Regions from separate parts of the Homo sapiens genome. Here region 2 is linked to region 1. Evidence: promoter capture Hi-C in 16 types of primary human blood cells and fetal thymus (Javierre and others, 2016). All regions are on one chromosome and are shown on one strand. Each heading gives the region's core, a stretch centred on a gene start or on the middle of the fragment in contact. The rest is flanking DNA. Distances are from core to core; before and after follow the strand shown.

Region 1 (4,935 bases), core at 1,032-3,531:
CCCAGCTGCTGCCTTTGTCACCATTAAGACCTCCACCAAAGGCAGAGTAGGGGAAAGGTTTTAAAAAAATAAAGTCATTCATTGTAGAAGTCTCCTTCTCTCAGGCCTTCCACAATACTTCTCCCTAGACCTTGGAGAAGAGGCAACTGCAACTAGAGGCTCTATCTACTGACAGAGCTCTTCCTGCTAGGGGTGGAGGGGAGGTGGCTACAGATCCAAGGAAAATTCCATTTTCTTTCTTGGTTGGTGACACTGACCATTCAAGACTCCTAATCCTGCCCTGTTTTCTAATTCTGGTAAAGTTTCCTAGTGTCACCAGTAAGAGAAACCGCTTTGTTTCATAAGTGGATTCTTGAAGGTTGATGCTTTTACCAGAACTAGAAGGGATCAGGGTAAAGTATAGGGTAGTAAAAGGGAAGAAAGGGTGACAAAAGCAATCTGGGAAGTATGGAGCCCAGAGAGACTCAGAGGACTAGGCCATGAGAGAACAGGGAGAAGAGAAAGTACTAAAAGCCAAAGTGCAGCCTCAGAGTTCTAAGAAGATGGGGATTATCTGCACCATAGACTAGGAAACCTGGCTTTCTTGCTGTACAGTCTCTTAACTGGTTGCCTTGTGAAAAATCCTCAAATCGTTCTGCCTTTTCTGGTGAAATGGGAGTAGACAAGGATTTATAAAATGCTCTATTATAGGCAGGTCGAAGGTGTTTTAACAATCCATAGAATGAATGGCCTCTGAGTCTGTAAAGGCATATTTTTTAAAAAAATACAGTAGCCAAATGTTTTCCTGTAAATGAAAAAACCAAAACCCCGAGAGAAACAAATTAACTTGAAGGTGTTTTCCAAGCCTAAAAGTAACCAAAGCCCCATAGGTTTGCTGAAGGAGACCGTCAAAACTCTAAACTGGTTTAGGTGAAATCCTCTCCAGGCATAGGTATCTCAGTGGAGGTCAGTTTCAGGCTGAGCTTTTTATGAAATCCGCCTAGAAAAGTAAGAGATGAAATGGAGCAAGGGAACTGGAACTTCCACAACTTTCTTTGCAGTGGAAGGTGACTCTCTTGACTTCTAGTATGGATTCCTTCCAGTCCCGTCCTCTTCCCCTTACAATACTCAATTTAATGTACTGAACTCCTCCTTCTGAATCTAGTGCAAAGTACAGTGGTGGACCCTCAGGGGATACCTGGATGGGGAGAGGCAGGGCGTGCATACAGGGCCAAGAATCCTTCGTTCCTGGGATTATAAGCACGGGAAGTCCAGCATCGCAAGCTTCCTGCCGCTACTGGGTATGGTGGTGCAAGGCACAGTCCCATCAGTGTCGATGTGAATGGAGTTGTGAAGTGCACAACTTGTCCAGCCCCTACGCCGAGGCCAGGCCTTTGTTCATGCAGTTGCCTAGTTCTGGTCCTTTGGCTACAAACTCAAAGCTGCCTGGCCAAGAGCCCTTTCACTCACTGTCCCTCTTTCTTCAACTTCTGTTATCCAAGACCCTCTATAGAATCATAGTGAGGGGGAGAGGAGTGCAGCTTCCCATACGGAAGGCGATATGTTTCCCTGACCCACGGATCTGGAAACTTCCGTGGGGCAGGGGCAACCGAGGGGTGCCACCTCTGCGGGCTCCCTGCAAGCTCCTCGGCCGTTCTGGGCAGGGCCGGGAGGGGCCACCAGGTGGCGCAGCCGGAGCCCAGCGCCCCAGCAGGTGCGGGCAGCGCGGAAAGTCCGCGAGTGGGAGTCCCGATGCCGGGCGTGGAGATGTGGGGGAGGAAGTCGGCGGGCGGGCGCCGGCTCCGCGAAGAGCTTCGGCCCTAGCAGATCTCACCGGACGAGCTCTGGCCTCGCGGCCGCCCCTCTACCACCCCTCAGCCCCAGCTCCCTCCCCGAAACCCCGGGCGCAGCGCGCCGGGCGTTCTGGACACGTCCGCCCGTCGCGCTGGTGTCCCGGGACTCCGGCCGACCCCGGCCCCCCTCCGCCCTCAACTTCCCTCGGGGTGTTGGGGCGACGGGCAGGGGCCTCTTTCCCAAGAAAGGACACAGGCGCTCCCGAGGGCCACGGCCGCCTCTACTCACCGCGGAGCCTCTCTCGCCTTGCCCAGGGTGCCCATGGCCGCGGCCCGCGCTCCCGGTGCCGGCTCACCTAGCGCGGCCGGGCGCGGCGCATCGCCCCCGCCACCACCGCCGCCGCCTGCCGGCTCTCTCCCCCCCGGGCCTCGTAGCCCCGGCGCCCGCCAGCCCTCGAGCCCGGCGAGCCCGACCGAGGTGCACCGCAGGCACAAACTTTGTGCGAGCGCGCCCCCTCTGCCTCGCGCGCGCGCTCACACCCGCCTGGCAACCACCTGACACGCTGATGCTGGCGGCTGCAGGAAACGTGCGGCGCCCCGCCGCTCTTCCCCGAAACCTGCCCCCTTTCCGCGGGTGCCCCGGCCTGCGCCTCGCGCGGTTCTCTCACCCCTGCCCGCCTTCGACCTCTCTTGGCCAAAGGGTTAAGTCTCAGGGGAGTTGGAGAGGAGCGGGCTCCCGGCTACCACGCCCGCGCCTTGCAGGGCACCTGTGCCCGTCGACCTCCACCTCAGCTCGGGAAACGGGCTGCGCCTAGCGGCTCCCATGGGACCCCCTTTCCCGCAGCCGACCCGCAGCTTCCACGCCTCTTCCTGCGGCCGCTGCTCGGAGCACTGCAGTGAGGACGCCTTCTCCCCTCCAGGGCCTCTCCTGTATATATCAGAGCGCGGAGTCCGGCAGGGGAAAGGAACGGAAAGACAGTTGTGAAGTTGCCTTAACCTGTGCCCTGGGGTCTCTAGGTAGCCGTCTGCAGGACTGGGCCGTAGACATGTGCCCTGTGCCCTGCGCCCTGCACCTTGGACGAGGGCTGCCTGTGTGGAGGTGCGCTCCACAGGCGTGATCCATATCTGGCCCAGACGCGGCCGCCTGGCGTCGGTGGGTGTAGGAGATGTGGGGACAACTTTCATACAACGTCAGTGCGCACAGAAGACCTGGCCAAGAGGGGCGGCCCATCCGCTGCTTGTCCAGGTGATAGTGCTGATAATCTCAATAGCTAATGATTGAGTGCGGTTGTGCTAAGTGCTTTCTATACATTACCTCATTTAATCCACTCTCCCTGATACAAAGAGATCACTGTTGTAAAGATGAGAAAATGAAGGTTTAGAGAATGCTATGCCTTAGATCATACAACTAATAAACAGCAGAGAGACCTCTGACTTGGACTGAGGTCTGTCTGACTCCCTGTAATCACTGCTGGACTGCCCTAATAACACACTCATTATCACGGCCACAGACCATAACTCTAGCCACAGTCATAGTTGTCTTCCTGGCCATAGTGTTCTGGACTTTAAAGCCTTCCTCTGTTTCATTTATATATTTCCTTATATTTATATGCTACCTTGTCCTTAAAACAGAATTCGAGATAGCTTACAAGAGCACATAACCTACAAAAAGAAGTGTGTGAAATGAAAAATGAGGCACACAAGATGGAGCCAAAAATGAACATCATTTGAAATAAATGCATCTCATAGAGTCAAATACCCTTGCTACAGGTGGGACCAAAATTTGTCTCCTGCATTTCTAGCAGTCAAGTTTAAAGAGAGGCCTTGTCTAAAGTTCAATTCCTATCACATGCAAGACCAAAAACAAAATTGCTCAAGAGAAGATCCCCCTTTCTTGATACTGAGACCAGCAAGAAATTTCTCCAGAGAATCCTCATGAACACTGGGTGATATAAAGAACCAAGTCCTCAGTCACAGCCACAGATGCAGAAGGGGCAGGTGAATGTCAGGAGAATATTAAATGATGACACTCTTTCTCACTCACTGGGTCTAAGGCTCAAACATTTTTAGAGTTATCTATTATACACCCTTCCTCATGTAAGCCCTACAACCTAAACAACCAAGTTGGCGGATGTCTGAGGATGGTAAAGATTTGTATCTATATATGAATCTATCTGACTATCTCCCAACAGTCCTAAGTTTGCAGTCTTAGACTTTGTTCACAGAGATCTTCTCTTATTACCAGGTGAACAATTACTTTTCACTGACCCCTCTACTACAGAATGAGCTCTTTACCCTACTTAAATCTATAATATTTACACTTTCAATTGCCACATAATATTCTGTGTCCCTGTCTTACCTCCACAGCTAAACTGTAAATTGTCCGAGGTCAAGAATCAGGTCTTATGCTTCTTTAGCTTCCACAGCTGCCAACTTGAGGCAGTACCTGTGGGACATTACTAATGAACTGCTGTGGATTTGATTTTGAAAAGCAAAATGTGCTGACCTCAAAGAAGAAAATAAGATCCTTCCTGATTATTTCCGGAGAAAGGGTTTCAGTTTTTCTTTGAAGTCCGCTGTCTATGGCAGGAGTGATAAGCTTACTGGCACTGTCCCCGGTGGCTTTCGTGGGATCCCCATCACAGGTTATCCGAGGCCTTCGGTATTTCTCTATTGCTTCACCCTTGAAAATAGAGCCCCTTCCATGCCATTCATTGCACTGAGTCTTTGGACAGCAAAATCTTTGTGTGTGGCAGGGGAATAATCCAGCCTTATACTGCATATGCATAGGTATGTATGCCAAATGGATGCCTTTATGTAAATGCATCATTATATTTATATGTAAATATACATATATGCATAATACTAAGTGCACATGTAGGCAGTTACACACATCTGCACACCTACAGTCCACATATATACAAATGGTTGAAACCAAGGTTATTAATTCATTCAATACATGAGTCTTGCTGAGTTTTCTAAAGAAAGAGGCCTACATATGCCCAGCGAGTGTTTTTCTCTTGGACTTTCTGAGTACTCTGCACTTCACTTGCATCTGATTCTGCTTCTGGGCCCCCTCGAGCTCTTTTTTGAGGTTTTCTGGCTACTCCTACCTGAGCAATAAGTCTTTTCCAAACATCTAAAAAATGAGAAGTTTGTCTAT
Region 2 (4,935 bases), core at 1,339-3,838, 1.2 Mb after region 1:
TGTGATGTTATAAGCCAACTGGGATGGGTTCTGTGTTTTGGAAGCTGAAAACAGGTTGGAAATTGCCATTCAGCCATCAGCCCAAAGTCCTTAAGGTTAATTTTTTGTTTGTTTGTTTGTGTTTTGGAGATAGGGTTTCACACAGTCACAAATGCTGCAGAGCAATGGCATGACTGCAGTCTCAAACTCGTGGACTCAAGCAATCCTCCCACCTCAGCCTCCTGATGCTTGGCTAATTTTTAAATATTTTGTATAGACAAGGTCTTGCTAAGTAGCCCAGGTTGGTCTCGAACTCCTGGCTTCAGGCAATCCTCCTGACTCCACTTCCCAAAGCGCTGGGATTACATGCATGAACCACCCACCCAACCTGAAGCTAACTCTTAAATAAGAGGATAAGAAAAACTGACTAGAAAAGAAAAATATCCATCCTAAGAATTTCTCCCTTTGTTTAAAGACAAAAAATGAAAAGAAAGAAAGTAGGTTTGGGTATATTGATAGGTATGCTGAAATAGGTCTGGCTTTAATAACGTGATCATGCTTAAAATGATTCTCTCTGAATATAGCTTTCAAGTCCCTTGCAGCTCCAGCTTTCACATCATTAAGTCCACTGAATTTCCATGTTAGAACATCAGGACTAATCTAACATTACAAGAAGTGTCTGCAGGGTGTAGAGCAGTCACATGACTCCAGAAATACAATGTGAACTCTATAGGTTTAAGCCAAAAATGTATGCCAGGAGCTTTAAAATTTTTTTAAATGCTTTAAGGCTTTTTAAAGTACTTATTGTAACTAGATGCTGCCACCTACTGGACAATTTACAAGTGCCTGAAACTGTGCTGGCAACAAAAAATTATACAGGAAAAAAAGGCAAAATTTTCCTGTTTTCCTAATAATACTTATAAAAATATCTTATTTAGAAATGTATGGCTATATATGATTGATTAAAATAATTTTTAAATTTTTATACATTTCTAATTAAAACAGTAGCTGAGATCTAATGAGTAATGGGAAATTCATTTCATTGTAGAACAGATGAAAGTAGCTTCGTACCACCTTATGATAGTGCTTATGTTGAAATACCAGGAATATGAGACTTTCAAAAAATCCGTGGCATGAGGTCAAACTGGACTGTTGTGTTTCTAATTATTTCTTTCATACTTGCAGTGAAAATATTCTGCTAATAATACCAAGTTTAAGCTGATTATTCCAAAAGTTTCCTCTTTTAGAATAAGGTAATAGTTATGTAGTCCAAAAAACAAATTAATATAATTAGGTTAATAATGCAGCCTAAAGTAAATGCTAACTACTTTTTTGTTTTTAAGAATTTAAAAAAAACAGATATGTGTGGCAATAAATGACTCCAAAACATATGTCTATGAAGTAAACAGCAAGCAGGAAATTTCATTAAGGAATTTGGCTTTTCTGTAAAAGAACAATCATCAAAAAAAGATTCTAATTAAATCTGAAGAAGCCAGTAATACAATAATGTTACCTCTTCATTTTGGTGAACTGGTCAAGTGTGAACTAATTAAGACAGTCAGTAGCAAGAGTGAAGTGCAACAGACATCTGGTTCACCTAACAGTATCTTGTATTCCCTTTTCCTTTTACGTTGACCCTACTTTTGCATCTTACCTGCTTTGCACACACTGCCAATACATAATAACTAAGAAGTCTGAATCTAAAAATTGAAGCTTTAATAATGTCATCATGTTTAAAACAATGATTCTCTCTTAACATAGCTTTCAAGCCCCTTGCAGCTCCAGCTTTCATATCATTAAGTCCACTTAATTTCCATGTTAGAACATCAGGACTAATCTAACATTATGGGAAGTGTCTACAGGGCCTACAGCAGTCACATAACTCCAGAAATACAATGTGAGCATAGATTTAAGTCAAATATACGGGCCAGGAGCTTTAAAAATTAAACATATTTGACAGTTTTGATTTGGTTTTGAAAAAAGGGCAACTGAAAACAAATGTCTTGCCTTCCAGGACCAAAAGTTCACTGGGTAGTGAACTCTGTGACCGAAAAGCTTAATGTTAAAAGGCCACCATAGATCCACTTACAGAGTGGCCTGTCTTACATTGCTTGCTCCAGAGTCAACCACAAGCAGGTTTGGTCTTTCAGAAAAGCCCTACCCACTAGAAAAATCAGTATTTGACTCCTGGTTTCCAAACTATAGACATTGAGATACTATAATATCCAGAATCTCATTCCTGACACTGTCCATGGATTTTTTTGAGGGGGGGGAATAAGGGGTATAGTCTCATTTCTATGAAGGTATAGAATTACTGATAAACATTGAATGAAATATATTAGTAAGTTGTACTTTTCCAAGCAGACTACGTTCATATACTGGTCTTTAGACATTTAAATAAATAAAAAAGCAGTTCATAAGCTATAGCTTTAGAGGTGCTTTTACAATCTCTTTTTTAAAAAATAATGTAGTCATTGCTAAACTCAGAAAAAAAATAGGTTTGAGAAAACCATGTTATTCCAAAATACTGCCCCAATAAAATATATTACAAAGACACAATAATCAAAATAGAGTGGTATTAACATCAGCACAGACAGAAATTTTAATGGAATAAAATAGAAAATCTGAAAATAAACCCAGTTCCTACACGATAAAGCTAGCATTTCAAATAAGTGGGGAAATGACAGATTATCCAATAAAGGGTCTTGGAATAGCTGGTTAGCAAATTGGGGGAAAAAAACAAAATCAACTCTCTAACTCATATCTAATACCAAAATAAATCTCAAGTGGGTTAATATTTAAATTTTTTCATTAAATTATAACTGATGAAAGGAAAATATATATTTTTTATACAATCTTGAGACATAAAAGGCCTTTTAAAGCAGAGTACCAATGAATGATAACATAAAAGAAATGACTAACTAGAGCAAGAAATGTCACAAAATTAAAAAAAAAGTTAGAAAAATGCTTATGGTGTTTGTGACAAATAATTAATATCCTTAATATTAAAAAAGTCTTTCAAATCAATAAAGAATACCTCACTTTATAAAAGAGACTAAGACATGAGTAGGTAACTCACAACTTAGCTAAACCAAAGAATAAATCTATAACCTCCCTGATAATCAGAGAAATACAAATTATTGTGATTCCACTTTAAATAAACAAAGCTTAAAAATAACTACAAAATCCATCGTTGGCATAGAAAAATAATATTCAGATACAATGTGGGTAAGAGTCTAAATTGATTTCAATAAGTCAATGTGAATAAAAATCTTGTGAAAGTCCAACCCTGGACTAAGTATTTCTCTTCTAGGAATGTATTTGAAAGTATACCCATTTTCTATAGCGGCCCTAACAAATTACCACAAACTTGGTGGCTTCAAACAACAGAAGTTATTCTCTCACAGTTCTGGAGGCCAGAAATCCAGAATCAAGATGTCAGCAGGGCCACGTTCCCTCCAGAGGTTCTAGAGGAATTTCTGTTCCTCCCTCTTCCAGCTTCTGATGGTTGCCAGCAGGCTTGAGGCTGCATCACTCCAATCTCTGCCTCCGTCTTTGCAGCACCTTTTCCTCTTCCTTATCTACCTCTTCTCCCTCCATCTCTTTCTGATAAGGCTACCTATGATGGAATTTAGGGCCCATCTCAATATTCCAGGACTTAATCACATCTGCAAAGACCCTTTTTCCAAATAAGGTAACATTCACAGGCTCTAGGGATTTGACATAGATATCTCTTGGGGGATTGGGGTGGATTTTTTTCAGCCAACCACAGAAGGTAATCATTGCAATAATTGACTAAGGATGTCACTGCAACATGTGTAATTTAAAAAATTGAAAAACTAAGGGAATAATCTAAATGTTCAATAGAAGGGTATTAGTTAAACAAATGATGGCACATCCATCTAATGAATTAATATATAATCATTAAAAATAATGCTGATGCACATTGTTCCAGTTATCTATTGTTGGATTACAAAATCACCCAAATCTAGTGGCATATGGTAAAAATTATTGCAGGCAAGATCTACTGATTGATGCTGAAATTAGTAGGTGAAAGCTGGAGAAGAAACAGGATATTTGCATAGTCTTAAAGCATCTCCCCCAAGATATGTATTAATTGTAAAAGAAAAAAATAGTAATTTTACAGTGCAGAAAACCAGCAGACACCATCTTAACAAAGTGATCAAGGTGAAACATTACCAATAATAATATATAACAGCATTAGGTATACCAAGTGTGATTGACTGAGAAGGGCACATAACTTCCAGAGTATGCTTGCCAAAATTCATAACTTTCATCTAATCATGAGAAAACATCACATAAACCAAAACTGAAGGACATTTTACAAAATAGCTGACCAATACTCTCCCAAAGGGTCAACATCACGACAGACAAGGAAAGACTGAGGAACTATCACAGATTGGAGGAGATTAAGGAGACATGACAACGAAATGTAACATGGGATCTTGGATTGGATACTAGTAAATAAAAAGGACATTAGTGGGAAAACTGGTAAATTTTTAAGAAAGTCTATACTTTAATTAATGGTATTATACCAATGTTGATTTCTGAGTTTTGATCACTATGGTTATGTAAGATTAGGAGAAGCAGGGGGGAAGGGTATATGGAATTCTGTACTACTTATGCAAGTTTTCCATAAATTTAAAATTATTTCAAAATAAAAAGTAAAAAATAAAACTTAATGGCATACAACAAATATGCAGAAAATGTTCAACCTCACTAATCATTCAGGAAATACAAATTAACCACAATGAACTATCATCTCACTCCTGTCAGAATGGCTCTCACCAAAAACACAAAAGATAAATTGTTGGTGAGGATGTGGATTAAAGGAAACCCTTGCAATCTGTTGGTGGGAATGTAAATTACTACAGCCATTATGGAAAAGTGTATGGAGGATCCTCAAAAAACTAAAAATAGAATTACCATATGATC

The links. The method cuts DNA at HindIII sites, captures the fragments that hold promoters and counts their contacts. A CHiCAGO score of 5 or more calls a contact.
Region 2: a contact is called between a fragment that was not itself captured here and the fragment with the promoter of RASGRP1 in region 1, in 8 of 17 cell types (total CD4 T cells, total CD8 T cells, naive CD8 T cells and 5 more). The highest score is 13.8, in total CD4 T cells.

The regions. Positions count from the first base shown.
Region 1 is chr15:38,562,533-38,567,467 of GRCh38, forward strand. RASGRP1 (RAS guanyl releasing protein 1) reads right to left here and starts at 2,282. Exons shown (of 17, transcript NM_005739.4): 1 at 2,062-2,282. The coding sequence starts at 2,096. RefSeq lists silencers at 1,579-1,778, 1,789-2,008, 2,039-2,278, 2,439-2,488 and enhancers at 2,346-2,857, 2,699-2,888. The HindIII fragment of the contact is 3,108 bases long and covers 1,262-4,369 here.
Region 2 is chr15:39,756,268-39,761,202 of GRCh38, forward strand. The region is part of intron 5 of FSIP1 (fibrous sheath interacting protein 1); the gene reads right to left. Among named protein-coding and RNA genes, the nearest start is that of FSIP1, 24 kb to the right of the region's middle. The HindIII fragment of the contact is 1,112 bases long and covers 2,033-3,144 here.